Linked DNA regions of Homo sapiens: region 2 is linked to region 1. Evidence: promoter capture Hi-C in human tissues and cell types (Jung and others, 2019). All regions are on one chromosome and are shown on one strand. The core of a region is centred on a gene start or on the middle of the fragment in contact, and the rest is flanking DNA. Distances in the headings are between cores, read along the strand shown.

Region 1 (4,777 bases), core at 35-2,534:
ACAGGAGTGGGCCTAGTTTTTTGGTGTAGAATTGAGCCTTGAGTGCACTGGTGGGATCTTATTGAAAGGAACCCCTCCAAGACTAGAAGAAGATGCATCCTCTGACAATGTAGGCTCTGTAGGCGTCCCAAGTACCTGGGCTGTGGGTTAGATGGACTCCAAGGCATTTCCTCAGGTGGCAATGGGCCGATCCCTGGGAAGGCAAAGCTGTGCAGGAAGAAAATGGCAAGATGCTACCTTCCCTCAGGGAAAGCCCCTTTCCCGGGAGCAGGGAAGGCGAGGCAGTTTAGGCTGGGTCAGTTTGTCCCTGCCATCAGAGTCTGTTGGTCCTGGAAAAAGAGGGCCTTATTTTATTTATTTATTTTTCTTTGAGACAGTGTCTTGCTCTGTCGCCCAGGCTGGAGTGCAGTGGCTCGATCTCAGCTCACTGCAACCTCCGCCTCCAAGGCTCAAGCGATCGTTCCGCCTCAGCCTCCAGAGTAGCTGGGACCACAGGGACCACAGGCGCCCGCCACGACGCTGGCATTGATTGATTGATTGATTGATTGAGAGAGAGGTAGCCTCCCTGTGTTGCCCAGGCTGGTCTTGAACTGCTGGGCTCAAGCAATCCTCCTGCCTTGGACTCCCAAAATACTGGGATTACAGGCGTGAGCCACCGTGCCTGGCTAATTTTCTTCCTTTCTTTTTTTTCCTGCGAGACGGTGGGCGGGGGTATCTCCCTAAGTTGCCCAGGCTGGTCTTGAACTCCTGGGCTCAAGCGATCCTCCCGCCTCAGCCTCCCAAAGGGCTGGGATTACAGGCATGAGCCACCGCTTCCTGCCAAAAGAGGGCTTTAGGGCACCCCCAGAACCTGAGATCTCCCTCATCTGTCATCTTTAAAGAGAAGGAAGTCGACTCCCAGTCGAGCCATAGTCCATTTGTCCCGGGCACGGTGACTCCGGGGTGGCCAGGACCAAATGTGTCTCCTTCTGGCTTTTGCACCGCACCAACTAATCCGCGGCAGGCCGCACAGCTGCCCTGGCCTTCGCGGAGGACTAAGGCGAGGGCGGTGTACGCTGCTCCGGAGTCCCACCGCGGGAGTTGAGGCAGCGGATTCCGAGGGCAGGGTGGGGCGGAATCGGGAGGGATGCGGACCCGGTGGAACGCACTGCGCAGACGGCGCCGGCGCCCGCACACAGCTGTTGACTAGTCTTCCAGCTCTCCCCTGGAAGTCGTCCAGGCGCCGGTCTCTTTTTTCTGCCTTTTTGTTTCCCTCCCCGCGAGTCGGCGCGACGGTGAATTTCCGTTTCCGGCGGTGTGGAAGCGGACCTGAGGAGTCGCAATTGTGAACAGGTTCGGTGCTGCGGCTGGGGTAGGCGGCAGTGGGGTCCCTGGCTCTGGGGCACTGGGAAGATCGCGAGTCGTGCGCGTGGGAAGGTCCTTCCCTGGTCCTCCGGGTTATCTTTGCTCCCCAGGAGCAGCATATTTCACCTTTAACGGAGGCGTGCCCGGGAGTCGTTGGGAGAGGGAACGGGGTGAATCCCTGCAGAGAGCCTGACGGGGAGGGAAGGTGTCCGGGAGACGTCGTTTCCTGGCGACGTGGTCCCAGCAGGCGACTCGGACCTGAGCCGAATCTGTTGACCCCAAATTGTGCTTTTCCCACCAAGAGCAAAAGAAAGAGAAACATTAGTACAGCTTCGGAACTAAAATATAGTAGAGAAGCAACATAACCTCGGAAATCCCACAGCTATTCAGTTTCAAAGCGTTCCTAGTGCCCAGCTCTCCTAACTCCCAGCCGGTGTTCCTTGACGTTATGGTGATATATAAAGACTTTCTGTTTCCGCTCGTGTTGTGTGTCTGTGGGAAGCCTCTGACTCACTTCTGTGCTCCAGTAGCACCCTGTGCAGCCTTGCAGTGTATCCCTTATTGCACGGAAGGTACTAGTTTGGATTTCCTCTGCAAGTCAGATCATAGCTATATCCATTCACTGGCACAGTGGCTAGCACATCATAGATAGACCAAACATTTATTAAACGGAATTAATACAGGACCTTAATTGAATGAAATGGCACCCTTTCCCGCTTTTTTTCAATCAAGCTGTCAGATTTTATGCAGCCTGATATTCTTAAAAAACTCACTAATTCAGTGATTACCAATTTATTGGCCACAGATTCCCAGGTACCTCAGAAATCACTGGAAGGGTCTCTGTAAGTCCATGGGGTCTCCAGGCATCATTTAGAACCAGTCATATCTCACACATACAGATACTGCTGTTTTTCAAATGTGTGTAGATGAGTTATAATTCAGGAGTTTTACAGAGGTGACAGGTACTAAAAGTAATACTGCGATCCTATTGGAAGTTCATAAAAACGTTTTAAATTTTTTATTACAATTTAAGTTTAAGTTAGGAAACCACTTCATTAGTCCAGTTGATACCTAGGTCTGAGCTGTCCAGTATGGTAGCGACATGTGACTGTTTAGAGTTAGAATGAAATTAATTAAAAATTCATTTTTTCAGTTTCTTTAAGAACATTTGTTTAGGGCCACAGGTTTCCAGGCTTAAGGGTGGGGCCTTTGCCAGGGAACCACTCTCTTCTACCCAGTATTTTCCTGTCTCCTGTCCATATCACAGGGATATACTCCGGCAAGTATTGCTATTAATTACTTCATTCATTCAACAGATGTATTGTGACAGATACTGTGCTAGCCACTTTCTGGGGCATAATGATGAAAAGAATCTGTCCCTTCCCTCAAGATCACTGGAAGCCGGGGGTCTAGTAGGAAGACAGAAAAGAGAACAGATGATTACATTTTCATGAAAGGCATGCACAAGGTGTTATAAAAATAAAGAGAAAGAGCACCAGCCCAGACTGGGTATTTGAGTACTGGGACTGTTCAGGAAGATGTAACATCTGTATGAGTTCTTGACAACAAGTGAGAGTTAAGCAAATAAAAAGTAAGAATGTATCCTATATAGAAGAAACGATATATGCAAAGGTCCAGAGGGCAGGCACATTGATGGACCACAATTAGTTGAGTAGCATGGAGTAAGTATGCGGAGGGTGATGGTAAGGAGATGGTAGCCAGAGTGGGAGACACAGGTTAGCTGATGGATAGTCTTGCATGCTATGCTACTGAGCCTTCACTCAGTAAGGAAGGCTTTGGGGGAACTGCAGTAGGATTCTAAGCAAGAGAATGCTTTGATAAAATTTTGTGATTTAGAAAGGTCAATAGATGGCAGTGTAGAAAATGAATTGGAAGGGCTTGTGTATAGGCAGAGGACTGATTAAGAAGCCATAGTGTAATTAAGATCTGGGCAAGACATGGACATGCACACTTGAGGGTGAAGGCTGGGAGGAGGGAGAGGATCAAAAAACTACTTATCAGGTACTGTGCTTATTACCTGGATGATGAAATAATCTGTATAACCAACCCTCATGACATGTGATTTACCTATATAACAAACCTGCACATGTACCTCTGAACTTAATACAAATATAAAAAAAAAGAGATCTGGGTGAGAAATGAGGGTTTGAACTAAGGTGAAATCTATTTGTACCTTAGGAGAAAGTAAGACAGGAAAATGAAAGATCTCAGGAGATTTGAAGGAGACAGAATTACCAGATGTGGAGACTGATAGGATACAGGATGAGGGAGAGAGGAGTCTAAGGTAACTGCCGGCTGATCCTCACATGGGAGACTGGAAAGATGACATTCGCTGAGATGAGAATGTTGTGGAGGAAGCTGGTATGTCTGAAGTGGTGAGGTTGGTTTTAGATTTGATAACTTTGAAGTTCCTGTAGAAGAACCAAAGGCCTGGAGGTCAGCTAAAAGATGCATTTGGCTCAATTTCATGGCTTTGTGATGGATTAAATGTCTTTCTCCAGTTAGCACCTTCTAACTATTTATCCAGAAGTTACTAGGACTCTTTATTTTGTTTTATTTTTCTTCTGATATATGCCCTGGGGGAAAGCACTTATATTACAAGTACTTATAATAGACTAAAGCTTAGGAGCTAGCACCGTCTTTCATAGTAAATAGAGTGACAGTCTAAATGGCATAAGCAGAGAGAACCCACTGCTTTTAACAGGTAGTCCATAGGAGTCACTTACCTTGGCCAGTAAATGGAAATGCCCATCCTCTTTTGTCATACATAATCTTGAAGATTGTGCCAGTTTTGAATAATGTGAGATGTCAAGCATCACACTTACCTAAAATGCTACACCTCTGTAAATGGATTTAAATATGCAGAACCATATACAACTCTCCCTGCCTTTCCTGCAGGCTCAGCGATATGAGGCAGCATCGACAATTTATGGACCGCACGCATTATCTGCTTACATTCAGCTCTTCAGAAACCTTGCTAAGGCTATTGCTACGGTAATCAAATATTGTTTGTGCGTGCGTGCGTGCGTGTGTGTGTGTGTGTATGTCTGTATGTGTCTGTGTCTGGGTAAGAGGGAAGTGAAAGAGAACCTTAGCTTCGAGTGTTCAGTTTGACAACCTTTATATTTTACAAAATTTATAGTTTTGTGGTATCTCTAACAAAATAAATAAAATTTCTTTCCCAATTTTGGATCTAGTTAACATCCTTTCATGCTGGCAGCTTCTTTCATATGTATTTTCTCACTATTTTTACAACCATCATGTGAAATTAGGGAGATATCATTTCTCCCCAGTTTTCAGAGGAGCACATAGGCTTGAAGATAAGTGATGAAGCTTACTACACCTGGGAGTTGAACCTGTGTTTTCTAATCCTTGCCAGATTCTCCCCACTCACTCCAAAAGTTGAGTAGGT
Region 2 (4,808 bases), core at 411-2,910, 140 kb before region 1:
TGTGGAAAGAACTGCTTTGTCAGACTAACTTATTTCCAAAGTGCCAGGATAGAGAAAATTTTACAGTGATCTATTTTGTTTTTAACATCATGCTCCACAGCAGACAAAACAATCAGGAGAAAAGGTGAAAATGAACGAGTTTAGACAATGGAATTCAATTCAGCAACACAATGAGGTTCTCAGCCAGTCTAGGCTGTCTTCATTTCCAACTCCTTATCCTCTGCAATGTTAAATGATAAAATAAAATACCAGAAAAACATAACCACATTCTAAAACCTTTTGCCTCTGAAGAGGAAGCCCTAATAATAACCACTACCATTTTATTCTACATCTACAGTGTGCTGGGGTCTTACAAACATGATCCCCTAATAAACCTGTAGGATGAGCTTTTTACAGATGAGGAAGTTAAGATTCAAACAACTTAAGTAATTTCCTCAACATCCATTGGTTCCATTGCTGGTGAGAGGCCGGAGCCCAGGCTGCGCACCACCAGGGCTGAACCGTGGGTAACAGAGCTAGCTTCCAAATCTCTCTCTGCCGAGAGTCAAACACCTTGGTTTTGTTTTCATTTAACCATGATGCACACCTCTCACTATCTGATACTCCTTCTCTTACTTATCGTAAACTTCTGGGCTCCCACAAAGGAGTGGATCTTACACAGAGAAAGCAGTCTCTAGTAGTAAATTCAGTAAATTTAAAAAACACACACACACAAAATCCAAGAAATCACAGTCTTGAGATACAGTATCAAAAACCGTACCTCCAAATGGTAACTCAAGGCAACAAAAAAATTGAGGGGTAAAAAACTAAATTGCACAACACACTGCAGTCATCAAAGAAACACTGCATGATTGTTTTAAATTGAACAGCCTTAACCTCTGAAGGGACCTTAATGTTGTAGTCAGCAACAAACCTGTGAAAAGAAAAAGAATTGGTAAAATCACTTTCTAATGTTATGTATCTTTAAACACTTGTGACTGTGAAGAGTGTACAAAATTTATCTTCCACATGTAGACAGAGGGGCAGGACAAGCTAGAGCATACATAAACAGGTTAAGATTTTATTATTTACTAAATTTTCAAAAATGTAGAATAACATTAAACTTGAAATACATGCCATTGTTTATTCTAGTAGGAGTTACATTAACCATTCTGGAAACAAAATATAGATCAGAAAATGAGAAAAGTCAGATTTAATCTAAACGTCAACATTTCTGACCCCTAGAGTTTATTCCTAAAATAGGGGCCTCAGTGCAAAAACGGCACTGTACACTTTGCTTTTCTATCACTTCCTCCTGCACAGTCTAAGCTCTGATGACAGCTCTCAGACAGTAAGGAAACTGCTGAGTCAAAACCACATAATCAGAGCCCTCCACCAGCTGGACCCTCATAAACCTGACACCCCACCCAAAAGAAAGCAAACTGGTCCCCCACATGAGCCTGCACGTAACAGGCTGCTCACCACCAGGGCTGAACCGTCGGTGAAATTTACATGTGCAACCCAAGCAGAGGTTCCAGGGACGGTGTCTAAAGAAGAACTATTAGGAAGATAAGAGAACCAGAACTGTAGAGAGCCACCAAAAATGCACAACATATAACAGACTCCAACAGCAAACAGGCAATTATTTGCCTAGACGTCTGATACAGTGCCAGGTTAGCTCACTGCACTTGAAATTTTAACGGCACAAAAGAACCGCAATTATCTTTTTTCCCAGAGACACATTTCTTTGATTACATCTTGCATGCTGAAATAAAAAATTTATTCAAACAGTTTCAAGGTTATTCTTTGGAATGGAGTATTTGACTGATTGCCAAATGTATAAATTATATGACTAAGTATTAAACATGTGTGTTTACTTTGTTCCAGAGGTCACCTATTTAAATCAAGGACTTAAAAAGTCCTCGATTGATCAACTCCACAAAAAAGAAGAAAGATTATTTATCCCTATAAATCTACACATACACCCATCAGTAAAAAGACCAAGACAGACTCCAAAAAAATGACTAAAAAGATCATACAAGAAATATAAATATAACACAATACACAATGCTGTCAGTAAACTCACCGATAAGCCTCCATCTTCAGATAGATCATGTGCCTTTAGAAAATGTGAGCAATGTAAACAAACAGATTTGACTGGCATTGTTTAAAACCACCAGTTAGTCACATTTGATTTTTATCAGGCCTATAACGGTACAAAACATTTCACTTCTGTTACTACAAAGCTGGAAGCTAATTTCAATTTCCTACATCTCCACAAAAAAGCACCTACAGACATGTCACTGCAAGATGCCCAGGCACCACAAAACCCCGGACCACTGCATGGAGTCAGTGGGGAGCATACTGCTCTATATTCTCCATTGGGCCTCCCCTACCACCCAGATTTGGGAAAAAATACAAATTAAAATCAAGGGAGCTTGCTGTGCAAACACAGCCTGTAGCTCAGAACCTCAGCCCCACTTCCAAACAGAATGTCATCCATAAACAGAAATTCCAGAGCTGCCACAGTGAGACAGGCTCACAGAGAAGCATACCACTGAAATAAATCATATCTGCATATCCAGTGAGCATTTAACCAGCTCAGAGTGAACTAAGGAACCAAACACTACTGCCAGATTTTCCCTCCTAAGGTACTGACAAGTAAGAGCTATCAGAGCAAAAGATATGAAAACACCGGCTGTTTTCCAACAACCCTGACAGGACTTGCTCAAGGTTGCTGCCAAGTTTGCTGGTGAGACTGCTCTGAAGTATTGTGAAACCACACTCTTGACCTCAGGCAGTACTAATACCTTCAACTAAACACTGTTCAAAGTGGTGGGTGTGTTTATAACTGTAAAGGCAGAATTTCCTTGACCACACAGTGATAAGGCACCCTCTAATAAAACTGATCACAAGAAGGCACATATTTTTATTTTCCTTTTTATTTATACAAATGTATGGGGTACATCTGCAATTTTGTTACATGCATAGATTGCATAGTGGTCAGGTCAGGGCTTTTAGGGTATCCATCCCTCAAATAATATACATCATACTCATTAACCAATTTCTCCTCATCCTCCCCACTTCAACCCCTTCACCCTTCTGAGTCTCCATTATCTATTGTTCCACTCTCTACATTCATGACAAGGAACATATTTTAAGAGACACCTTATTTTCTTTTAAAAAGAGTCTCTTGAAAGATGTTTGTCTTGAACAAATATTTGTACACCTGTGTTCACAGCAGCACTAACCACAACAGCAAAAGATAGAAGTAACCCAAGTGTCCAATGACAGATGAATGGATAAACAAAATGTGGTATATCCATACCATGGAATATTAAAAAGGAAGGAAATTCTGACACATGCTACAATATGCGTGAACTCTGAAAACATTATGCTAAGTAAATCAAGCCAAATACTAAATAGTTCCACTTATATGAGGTACATAGTCAAATTCGCATATACAGAAAGTAGAACAGTGGTTTTCCAGGGGCTAGGGGTAAGAAACAATGGGAATGATTGTTTCATGGGCATAGAGTTTCAGCTTGGGATGAGGAAGTCATTCTGGAGATGGATGGTGGAGATGGTTGCACAACAATTTGAAGGTACTTAATGCCACTGAACTGTATACTTAAAAATTGTTAAAATGGTACATTTTGTGTATGTGTATTTTACTATAATCAAAAAAGATGTTTGTACTTGTTTAAAGTATAGATTTGGAATAGTAGAAATATTTTAAAACTATAAAAATACAACATATATTTCTATGCATATTTAAGAATCTACCAAAGTTGTCTTCAGCTTCCACACTTGGCGAAAATCTGACCTTCAGTCTCAGTCTGGAAAGCTAAAGAGCAGGATGCATTCTTCAAATGTCACTTCTGGCATCCTTGAACTGATGTATGATCAATGATTGCATCACCGTGTAAGTAAACATCACAACAGCATGACGTCAGTGATATGAACAAGGCATTATATTTGAATATCTGCTGTTAGTATCCAAAGACTCATTTTCAAATGTCGGTGAACATTCCAGATGTATCCTAGAATCTCCTGCATCCATCAGCAAACTATATGACACTCAAGATTTTGTCACGTACTTACCAAAGATGTTCAAAGATGGAATGTCTGGTTATTATATAACAAAGCTCAGCTCTAGCATTGTACTTTTTTTTTTTTTTTTTGAAACAAGGTCTCACTCCATCACCCAGGCTGAAGTGCAGTGCCATAATCACAGCTCGCTGCAGTCTCAACTTCTTGGGCTTAGGTGATCCTCCCACCTCAGCCTCCCAAGTAGCTGGGACTACAGATGCACACCACCACACCCAGGTAATTTTTTTTTTTTTTTTTGGTAGAGATATGGTTCTGCTATCTTGTCAAGGCTGGTCTCAAACTCCTGGGCTCAAACGATCCACCCACCTCGGCCTCCCAAAGTGCTAGGATTACATGTATGAGCCACTGTACCTGGCCTAGCATTGTACTTTGTGTATAACAGCATTGACATGGCAAGTCTACTAACAATATTAAAGAGCATGCTTACTAACAGTCAATGGTTGCTTGCAGGGAAAGCAGTCAATTGTTGAAAACTGAGGGTACCTTGAGAGGGCAAACATTTGTCACATATTACCTCTGCAAAGATTCTTCTGTCATTCTTCTCCAGGGAAGATATTGAAATTAGTGTGCAGGCAGTGAAAGCTAAGATGCAGATGGAGATTCCAAAACAGCTCTGTTATCTTGAAAGCCAATTTCATTTCTCTACAGCCACACTTTTAGAGCCAAAGCTTAAGGATGCATTTTTCTCTCAACTGGTTGTGTGAAGCAGCAAGTGA

The links. The method cuts DNA at HindIII sites, captures the fragments that hold promoters and counts their contacts. A contact is called where the count stands out against the background at its distance.
Region 2: a contact is called between a fragment that was not itself captured here and the fragment with the promoter of ASAH2B in region 1, in 1 of the 25 tissues and cell types used here (mesenchymal stem cells).

What each region holds. Positions count from the first base shown.
Region 1 is chr10:50,738,652-50,743,428 of GRCh38, forward strand. ASAH2B (N-acylsphingosine amidohydrolase 2B) reads left to right here and starts at 1,285. Exons shown (of 6, transcript NM_001321958.2): 1 at 1,285-1,332; 2 at 4,264-4,359. The HindIII fragment of the contact is 7,213 bases long and covers 1-4,342 here.
Region 2 is chr10:50,602,834-50,607,641 of GRCh38, forward strand. The region is part of intron 1 of SGMS1 (sphingomyelin synthase 1); the gene reads right to left. Among named protein-coding and RNA genes, the nearest start is that of SGMS1, 19 kb to the right of the region's middle. The HindIII fragment of the contact is 7,249 bases long and covers 1-4,808 here.